2 separate regions of the Homo sapiens genome follow, and region 2 is linked to region 1. The links are contacts of gene promoters, found by promoter capture Hi-C in blood cells and fetal thymus (Javierre and others, 2016). All regions are on one chromosome and are shown on one strand. Each heading gives the region's core, a stretch centred on a gene start or on the middle of the fragment in contact. The rest is flanking DNA. Distances are from core to core; before and after follow the strand shown. Region 1 holds the start of PTBP3 (polypyrimidine tract binding protein 3). Region 2 overlaps PTBP3 (polypyrimidine tract binding protein 3).

Region 1 (5,083 bases), core at 1,700-4,199:
TCAAGCAATGCTGCCGCTTTGACCTCCCAAAGTGCTGTGATTTACAGGTGTGAGCCACCATGCCCAGCCAAATTTTTTTTTTTTTAAATAAAGAAACTGTAAATTGGTACAGCCTTTTTGGAATCATTTTCAAAAAATTTATCAAATTTGAATTATAAAGGCTATAAAGGCTTTATATAAAGGATTGTTGAATTATATAAAGGATATTAAGGCTTATGTCCTTTGTTTCTCAATTCTACTTCTAGGGATCTATTCCTCAGATGTAATAATATGTGTGCAAAGATACTCATACATTCATGATATTTTCTGCAATAGTGTTAGTTATTTTGAATACTTGGAAACAACGTAATTTCCACTGTTTTGGAAAAGGTTAAATTATGAAATGAAATTATGAGGCTGGGCATAGTGGTTCATGCCTATAATCCCAGCACTTTGGGAGGCCGAGGTGGGTGGATCACTTGAGGTCAGGAGTTCAAGAGCAGCCTGGCCAACATGGTGAAACTCTGTCTCTACTAAAAATACAAAAATTAGCCAGGCAGGGTGGCAGGTGCCTGTAATCCCAGCTACTCCAGAGGCTGAGGCAGGGGAATTGCTTGAGCCTGGGAGGCAGAGGTTGCAGTGAGCCGAGATTGTGCCACTGCACTCCAGCCTGGAGTCTCACTTTGTCACACAGGGTGGAGTGCAGTGGTGTGATCTCGGCTCACTGCAACCTCTGCTTACCGGGTTGAGATTCTCCTGTCTCAACCTCCTGAGTAGCTGGGATTACAGGCGTGCACCACCAAGCCAGACTAATTTTCCTATTTTTAGTAGAGATGGGGGGTTTCACCATGTTGGCCAGGCTGGCTTCGAACTCCTGACCTTAAGTGATCTGCCCGCCTCGGCCTCCCAAAGTGCTGGGATTACAGGTGTGAGCCACCATGCCCAGCTATAATCCAGGATTTTTAGGTGAAAAAAAAAAAAAAAAAAAAGAAAAATGGTAAAGGTCGCTGGGTGCGGTGGCTCACACCTGTAATCCCAGCACTTTGGGAGGCTGAGGTGGGTGGATCACAAGGTCAGGAGTTCGAGACCAGCCTGACCAACATGGTGAAACCCTGTCTCTACTAAAAACACAAAAACTAGCCAGGCGTGGTGGCGGGCGCCTGTAATCGCAGCTACTCAGGAGGCTGAGGCAGGAGAATCACTTGAACTCGGGAGGCAGAGGTTGCAGTGAGCTCAGATTGTGCCACTGCACTCCAGCCTGGGAGACAGAGCAAGACTCCGTCTCAAAACAAAAAAACAAAAAAACAAAAAAACAAACAACAAAAAAAAGTAAGGTCCAGAAGGATGCACGCAGAATTGTTACAGTGGTAGTCATGGGCAGGGGGTGGTTTGGGAAGAAAAATATTAATGATAACTTTTCAATATTTTATAGTGCTTGAATTTTCCAAAATGAGCATTTATGCTGATATTACTTGTGTAGCTAAAAAAAGGGTTAAGGAAATTTCATCAACAGAATATATCCCAAATACAGTGATAGAAAGACTGCATCAGCTACTTATCTTGTTGATATTCTACATTTCCATCTGGCAATGTTTACAAATGCAACTTAATATTTAGATTTAATATACAAAACAAAATGTATTTGACATTTTGGAAGGGGACTGAGGTTAGATACAGGACTTTAAGAATTACCTCACCGAATTACTCTACCTATTTGAAAAGTTGTATGTCAAAAATATACATAAACGGACTGAAGAATCCATTCAACAGTGACGGCTGGAACCTGATTTTCTTGTGTATTCATGCAGTGCCCGGCACATAGTAGGTTAATACTGACTGAATGATGAATGAGTCCACAGTTTAGATCTTTTTAGCAGCACCTACTGATCTGAAAGCAGGAAATTAGCAAGGATAGATGTTTGAGGTTCTTGTTAGTTGCTTTTCAAATGACGAAGCCACGGGGAGGAGCCCCGCTCTTTTTTACTCAGTAGGTTAAGAATTTGGCTTAACAGTTTAGGGGGTTACATTTTGGTGATCTGTGAGTTGAAAAAGTACTCAATTTCTCACTAAAAAGGGAAAAAAGCAAGCGTGTTGTCACTCGTTATATTATATATATACTTTTTGCTCAGACCAGAGGGAAGGGCTCTGGTGCAAACGTTTCCTGGTTGTGAAACTGTGAGCAAATCACTCTCTTTGTATATGTATTTTCATCTGAAAAAAGGGAATAATGAGTAAACTTTTAAAAAATGCTGGGAATATAGCCATTCCATGTTTGTACAATGAATTTTTCATATAAATTCAATACTAGACGGTTAGGTCGAAATGCACTCAGATACTTAAATTGTATACAAATTCCAGTCCGGGCAGCCTCTTTCACCTCATTCATCGTCCCAGCCACACCTATGGGGCTGGTGTCGGTCCCAGCGGTCGACTCCAGCGCCGGGCTGCCAGAGGCTGGTCCCTGGACGTGTCATCTACAGCCTCGCGCACCCGGGGCAATTCCACCTCGTTTCTGGGGTCCTTGTGGGACATTCCTTCCTACTCTTGGGAGTCAGGTCCCCATAGCTTTTCCTGCCGGCAGAGGGAGGCATTCAAACCTGGCAGGCCCGGTCTGCGAAGCCGGAAGGCCCGCGGGGCCGCGGGAGGGCGGGCGGGGTGCGCGGCGGAGCGGGAAGCACAAGGCGCGCGCTCCCGCGAACGCAGGAGGGAGGCTGGGGGCGCGCGCGCGCGCCGGGCCGAGGGGCCGAGAGGCGGGGTCTTACAGCGACCGCGGGAAGAGGGCGCCCCAGAGCTGAGCCGGAGGCCGGCTGCCAGCGGGGCGAGGGTGGGCGCGAGCGCAGGGGCGGGCCCCGAGGGAGGGCGGGGACGGTGAGGGGGCGGGGTCGGGCTAGGCGGGGACGCGCTCGCGGGGTGGGGAAGGCGGGGGCGCGGCGGTGGCGGGAGCGTGCCCGGTCCCCGCCCCTGTTCCCACTCTCCTTCCACCTCGGACCGGCCGGGGCTCCGCAGAGCCAAAGCTCGCTTGTCCCCGGAACCGCCCTGCTGCCGCCGCCTGCTTCCTCTGCTCGCGGTTAGCCCGTCAGTCCCTGCTCTGTGCGCGCCTCCATCTGGGCCATGGATGGGTAAGTACTAGGCGGCGCGGCGGCCGCACCGGGTTGCCTTGGCGCCGCTTCCACCCGGCTCTCCGCGGGACGCGTAAGGGCTGGGGAGCAGTGCGCGGCGCCGGCGGCCGGAGGAGCGGCCCCGGCCAAGCCCGACGGCGGGGCTTCCGGGCGTCTCGGTGGGGATCCCGGAATCGCGGAGTTGCCGTCCGCCGCAGGCTCTCCTTTCCCCACGCGGCGCCCCGGACACGTCCGCTGCTTCCTAGCCTTACTCGACACACCCGGGAGCAGAGGAAAGCCCGGTCCGGCCGCGGTGCCGAGGTCCGCCCTCCGCGCCCCGAGTCCGGGGAGCCCAGCTCGGCCTCCCGACACTTCCTCTCAGAAAATGGTGCGCGGCGCTGGGGGAGGCGGAGGCGGCGCGCGGGGCGGGCGTCCTCCTGCCGGGGGAGTTGCTGTTTACCGGCGAGGTGGGGCGAGCGGCCGACGGCGGGTGCACGCGTCGGTACACGTCTGGGCGGCGACCTGGTCGCAAGCCATGGTCCCACGCGGGGTCCCAGGGCCGCCGCGGGACTTGGCCGAGGTCTCCCGACTTGTGCTGTGAGATACGTTAACGCTTTCTCGACACCAGGGGTCTGGACTTAGTGACCATGGACGCTTCCCCCTCACCTTTCTCTCTCCCCAAGAAACTTAATGAATTATCTGCCCGTGTATGTAAAATATGATGTACGAGCGATTTTCGGGGGCATTTCAAATGCTCAAAAATTTAATGGGGGTCCGTGACCAAAATAAAAAGATTTAGAGTCTATGTATATAAACTGTTCTCTGGGGACTCAGGGATATGGGGTGGGACTTGACATATTTTGGTAATTAAAGTAACAACTATGTTAGGATTTTGGTGAATTAATTGAAGGTTGTAGTATCTGTACCTACGGATTAAAAAAAAATCTCCAACTCGGTTTATTCCCATTATGTATTTGAGGTTTTTTTTAGCTTGTTACCTACTTTTGATGACAAGATTTCTGTGAGGTTGTGGAATATATGCAACTTGCTAGAACAGTAAAAGTCGTTCACATGTTGCCATACAGTTGATGATATGCTATTTGAAGATGAAATCTTCCAACAGCTTTTGACCTCATTAGATTTCATTTATTTTAGTTTCACAATATTAAGTGTATATGACATTTCGGATTGATTCATTTGAATGCAGATTGCACACTGCTACAGACATCAAAGTGGAGTTTTAGATTTTATTCATGATTGTGATGTTCTTTATTTTTATTTGATTGAAGCTTCAAAAAATTTCTTAAAATTATAACTTTTTTGGGTACACAGTAGGTGTATATATTTTGGGGGGGAATTGAAGCTGTTTTTATTGTTTGATTGAAGTTTCTTCGAGAACATTGTTGAAAACTTATTTCACATTACCTTATTCAGTTGCATTTTATATGTTGAAAAATTTTGTGGTCGTAAAGATTTGTGTCACTAATATTTTGGTTCAGGCAGGCTGTGAATTTAGCATTTCATTATGTGTAGTTAATTGTCTGGAAGGTTTGACTTAAATAATGGAAGCAGGCTATTTTTTTGTGTCGTAAAATGTATAGTTATAATAAAGAGGACTCTTGAATTTTGCGTCTTTGCTGTTAAACTGTAGGATAACTGTGAAGTGCAAACTTACTTTTTGATAGTGTTTAAGAAGTTTACTCTCCCTTCACGCTATTTGTGGTTTTAAAGGTAGTAATGGGTTTATTGGTTTGAATATGCAAGGCAGTTATACAGATACTGACTGGAAGGTAAGTTCATTTGGAAGTTCAAGTCGGAGCATGATTTGCCCTTTGTATCAGAACCAATAACCATAGTGTTACACCATTTTATTTTTTATGCAGCAAGCGTCCAGTTACTTATCACATTTAAATTTTAGACAAATGAATTTCAAGTTTCAGAAGTTTACAAGGAAAAATAAAAAATCTACGTGGTATTTTAAAAACAGTTTACATCATCTAGAGTCA
Region 2 (5,339 bases), core at 1,344-3,843, 83 kb after region 1:
GAGATGAGATTTGGGTGGTGACACAGAGCCAAACCATATCAACAGAGTAAAACTAAATATGTTGTTGTTTTATCCCCCCTATTTAGTCCTTCAGAAATGAGTTACTATTAATAGTAACCCTGGCCGTGAACCCTGTGATGCTGAGGTAGCACACGTATTGTGAGGATATTGGTGTCAGGAAGCCTTCCCCTCACTCTTTTCTTCTCAAAAGACACTTCAGAAAGGCCTTCTTTGGCCACCACTCTTGCACTGTCTCATCTTGCATTCTGGTTCGTGCTCACCCCTTCCCTTCTTTTATTTTTATTCGTAAGACTTCTAAAAATCACCAGATATTAGGATATTTGTCATTTGTTTATTGTCTGCATGTGGGCATAGACTTTTGTCTCTGTTTTGTTTACTGCTGTCTTTCCAAATATTTGGTGAATTAATAGAGCAGCCTCTAGTTGAACATCTTCTAGTGGCTACAGAAATCTCAAAAAGTAGATGATTCTTCACAGGGTGAAATAGTTGGTCCATGACTCCCACTTTTATTCATATGCTTTGTAACACATCTCATACCATTGATTATTGTAGTCTCCTATTTTAATACTGTACCATTTATATATCCCATAAAATAGGCTAGTTATTTAAGTGCCTGTTGTGTACCGGGCGTTGTTGTAAGATAGTCATGGGTATTGAAATGTTAATGTTTTAGGCTTAAGTCATTTTGGTACCAAAGTTTTCAAGAGAAAATTTTCATTTAAAAGGATTTATGAACAAGTTGTATTTATAAAGATACATCAGTTTAATACTTTTCTTTTACATTTAACCTAATGTGAACTGTTTTCCAGATATTTTCTAAATTTGGCACAGTCTTGAAGATTATCACCTTTACAAAGAATAATCAGTTTCAAGCCTTGCTTCAGTATGCTGACCCAGTAAATGCACATTATGCCAAAATGGTAATTATGATCTTTGTTTCATTTTTCAATTGTTAATCACTCCAGTGATACCTTCTCTTGTGCCCCACTTTACCATGTGTTTTTAAAAAAATTGTGGCAAAATATACATGTTTACCATTTTAGTCGTTTTAAAGTGTATGATTCCATGTTTTTTTTTTCTAAGCTAAAAATCATTACTACTTCATATGAAACGGTCTCAAATCTCCTATCACCTCTCACATCTCTGAGACGCAGGTCCTGTTTGTCATGTTTAAAGTCTAGAATTGAACACAGTACTCCTCACATAAGCTGACTAATAGAGCCATCATTACCCTCGTGCTTTCATTTACTTCTCCCATCCAAGTACTAACCAGGCCCGACCCTGCTTAACTTCTGAGATCAGATGAGATCAGGTGCATTCAGGGTGGTATGGCTGTAGACCATTTACTTCTGTTAAATCAGTCAGAGATTGATTTCACCATTTTTGCAGCTGTATTCAATGTTTATTCCTGTTGAGCTCTAAATTGGTGGAGATACTAAATCTTAGGAAATATGCTGCTATCAATTCGTGTTGTCTTTTTTTTTTTAGTACACGAAAACCTATTTTGACAAGAATAAAACTTGACATTCAGTTCGATTATCTTAGACATACCTCTTGTTGATATCTATCCCTGACTCTAATTTCATCTTGTAGCAGTTTTTGCTAGTCATTTCTACTTTTTGGTCAAAGATGAGGACTATGGCTTGTGGTACTTTTGTGTACCACACAGTGTCTGGCACTCAATTGGGAGTATAGCCTTTATATTTGCTGTACCCTGAACATGCATATATTATTTTGTACCTTTACGATGGCATACTTGTCAATTACCATTATTATAAATCAGGATATATATATATATGTTTTATTTTTATGTGATTTGCTTTCTGGTATCTATTTTTATAAATTCAAGCATTTGTGAAAGTCGTTAAGTGGCCACAAATACCCTTAGGTAAATTTTTATTCTTGCAAAGGAAGGGGTTGCTAATCTTTGGTTACAACTGACTCCACATTTTCCTCAGTTTATTATTCAAAGTATTACAAAGTAAATTTACAAGAGAAAAAAATAAGTGGTAGGTAATATTTTATGTATTGTGGCTCTGACAAGTACCATTTACAAAAGCTTTGTTTCATCCTAACAAAGCTTACACATCCTAGTATAATGTGAATTATACTAAAATGAATTAAAGTGGAATGTAAAATCAGAGTATCTTAAAACTTTTGATATAGGCAAAATAATCATAATAATAGTGAACATTTCTATGATAGACAGTAGTTTTCCAATCTTTTACATTTCTCCTCTCTTATTTGATCTTACCACAGACAAGATAAATATTATCAGTCTTATTTTACAGATGAAAGCTGAGACTTAGAGATTTTCTTTTTCTCTCTTAGGCTCATAGTTAATGACTGTGAGGTAAAAGTAAACCCAAGACTTTGGCTTTTTAGTCAGTGCTTTCTGCCTTACACCTGATTGCCACTCTTTGTCAAAGTAGAGGCTTCTTGGTTATCAGTGTTGTTGTCTTGCCAAAACCAGTCCCTTTCTTACATGCTTTAGGCTCTGGATGGCCAGAATATCTATAATGCATGCTGCACTCTGCGCATTGACTTCTCCAAGCTCACCAGCCTTAATGTGAAATATAATAATGACAAAAGCAGAGACTTCACTCGCTTAGACCTTCCTACTGGTGATGGCCAGCCATCCCTTGAACCCCCTATGGCTGCTGCTTTTGGTGAGTAGTTCTTTTTTGGGTCACAAAGCAAGTTTTCTGAAGTTACAAGTTTCATTTATTAAGCCATGTATGTTTATAAGCCTTTTTCTTCTCGAGTTCTCTCAGGATTTATAAAGGAAAGCAAGAATCCTAGAACAAAGTATACCCATTAATTAAATATTAATATTAGGAGGTTCTGTTAGTTGACAGATGAATATCTGAAATTGAGTTACAAATTTATTTTCTAACATTGATATTACTCATTCTTTAAAAGCCACAAACCATTTGCTTCAAATTAGTAGTCTTATTAACATTAACTTAAATATGCTAGTTTATAGCCATAATAATTTTGCCATATATGCTCTTGAGAAAAATACTTTTCCTTTTTTAAGTAGTGATATTTTATATCAAGCTTAAATTAATAGTATGATCTTTTATTCAAAGAAGAGGATTTATTTTGTTTTGTTTCCTAAACTTCAGAACTTCCAGCTGTATCTTAAGCTTGTGTGAAGTTGCATTTTGCATTAGTAAAAATACAGCCTTCTAAATTGTCTCTGCAAATTGTAGCTTTGAAGAGCCTCCCTCTTTTATTTAAAGTAAACCTCTTAAGGAAAAAGCAATGGATGGCCCAGTTTGAATATCTTATTAGGTTAGTATATGCTACTTTTGGTTTCACAGTTCTCAAAAGTGTGGTTTATTACTTAAAGTATTACTACCTTTTGTGATTGATTTTTCCTTTTCCAAATAACACCGTAAAATATTGCTAATTGGGACTTTAAGTAGTATTTAGTTCATCATGTTTTATAGGTGAGAAAATTAAAAGAATTAAGACAATCAAATTATAAAATTAAGACAACCAAATGATTGTCCAAACCCTTCTGAAAAATAGTTCATTATTTTAAAGTAAAAGCTTTTTTATTATTTTTAATTTAAAAAGCCAAGGGAATGATTCAATGCATCTTTCTAATATTGATAAAATGTCTGTTTTGGGTTCTTTGACCAAATTTTTGTGTTTTGTATTTGTTACCAGCCCCTAACTTACTTATCTGATTTGGCAGTGACAAAGGTCTTTTGTCATTACCATTTTAATAACAAATGATAGAAATATTTGGTGCAAAAAAAAAAATACTGGGGCAAATTAAAGTTTGCCAAAACTCAGCTATCAAATTTAAGAATTCACTTATTCTAATAATTGATTATATACTCTTGGTGCAATTAATGTTCTGTATTATGAGAGGAGGACATTTTAAAAATATGTTAAGAATTTTGATTTCTGAATATAAAATATCAGAATGTTCATATCCTTTCTCATTAATGTTATTAGTAAATCCTTAGTCACTGCAAAATAATGTCTACATCCTGAAAAAGTGATTCATCAGAGAGAGAACAATGCACTTTATATATTGTGTGAAAGTTTCTCTACTTTGCCTATCACTAGTATTTGACACAGTTTCACTATTCACTTCTTTTTTCTTTTGGCCTCTGAAACACCACTCTCCTTACTTTCTTCCTACTTCACTGGCTGTTCTTTCTCTTTTAAAGGTTTCTCTTTACAGTTTCTAGGGCTGAGTCATAAGCACTATGTCCTTACTTTTAGTGACATTTGTTATACCTATAGAAAAGCTTATAAAACACGTAAGTATATAAACACCCATGTGACTACCACCCAGGTTAAGAAATAAAATATTTATACATACTGAAGAAGCACCCCGTGTACCTTTCTTCATCACTTTTGTTCACTCTCCTTCCCCCAAGATAACCACAGTCCCAAATTTGATAATTATTCTCTTGCTTTTCTGTTTTCCTGTTGTTTTTTTACCACTCATTATATATCCCTAAATGCAACTTAAAAATTTTTTAAAGCATTCAATACTTTAAAGCATTAGAAAAATTTTAAAGCTGTATTTAGAACCTTACATAAATGGACTCATGCTGGTTTTCTTCTGTGACTTTATTTGCCCTGTATGTCTTTGGTGATTCATCCATATTCATACATGTGGCTGTTGCTCATTCATTCTCAGTACGGTCAAGTCTGTAGTATCCCATTGGAAGAATAATAGATCATGGTTTGTTTATCCATTTTATTGTTGATAAATAGTTTGGTTGTTTTAGTTTGATGCTACTATGAACATTCTTTCCTGCTGGACAAGAGTTTTCTCTAAGAAGTACATAGGAAAGGAATTGTTGGGTCATAGAGAACATATTTCTTCAGTTTCATTACATAATGCCAGTTTTCAAAGTGATTGCACCAGTTTATAACTGCATTGTGAGATTAAAATAATTTTTTTAAGCCATCTCCTACTGAAAGGAGTGAGGTTAAAAAAAATTTTATTTTAGTGTGTGGTAAATGGTATCTTAACATAGTTTTCACTTGCATTTTCCTAATTACTAATGAGGTTGGACATATTTTTATTATTTATCCTCTCATACATTTTGTTTTATTTATTTATTTATTACACGAATAAGTTCTTTAGTGGTGATTTCTGAGATTTCGGTGCACCCATCACCCAAGCAGTGTACACTGTACCCAGTGTGTAGTCTTTTACCTCTCGCCCCCATCCCTGTGCAATTCTTTTGTCTGTTTTTGTGTTTTATTTCTCCTTTTTTTCTTACTTAGTTGTAGGAATTCATTATGTATTCCAGATACTAGTCCATTGTTTGTTATATGGG

Evidence for each region. Contacts are between HindIII fragments. The CHiCAGO score rates a contact against its expected background, and 5 or more counts as called.
Region 2: a fragment that was not itself captured here is called in contact with the fragment with the promoter of PTBP3 in region 1 in 2 of 17 cell types (megakaryocytes and erythroblasts); the score reaches 6.6 in megakaryocytes.

The regions. Positions count from the first base shown.
Region 1 is chr9:112,331,485-112,336,567 of GRCh38, reverse strand. PTBP3 (polypyrimidine tract binding protein 3) reads left to right here and starts at 2,949. Exons shown (of 14, transcript NM_001163788.4): 1 at 2,949-3,098. RefSeq lists an enhancer at 1,905-2,875 and silencers at 2,625-2,944, 3,095-3,584. The HindIII fragment of the contact is 11,957 bases long and covers 1-4,368 here.
Region 2 is chr9:112,248,280-112,253,618 of GRCh38, reverse strand. PTBP3 (polypyrimidine tract binding protein 3) reads left to right here. Exons shown (of 14, transcript NM_001163788.4): 6 at 831-941; 7 at 2,516-2,690. It also overlaps the pseudogene RNA5SP295. Among named protein-coding and RNA genes, the nearest start is that of SUSD1, 76 kb to the right of the region's middle. The HindIII fragment of the contact is 980 bases long and covers 2,104-3,083 here.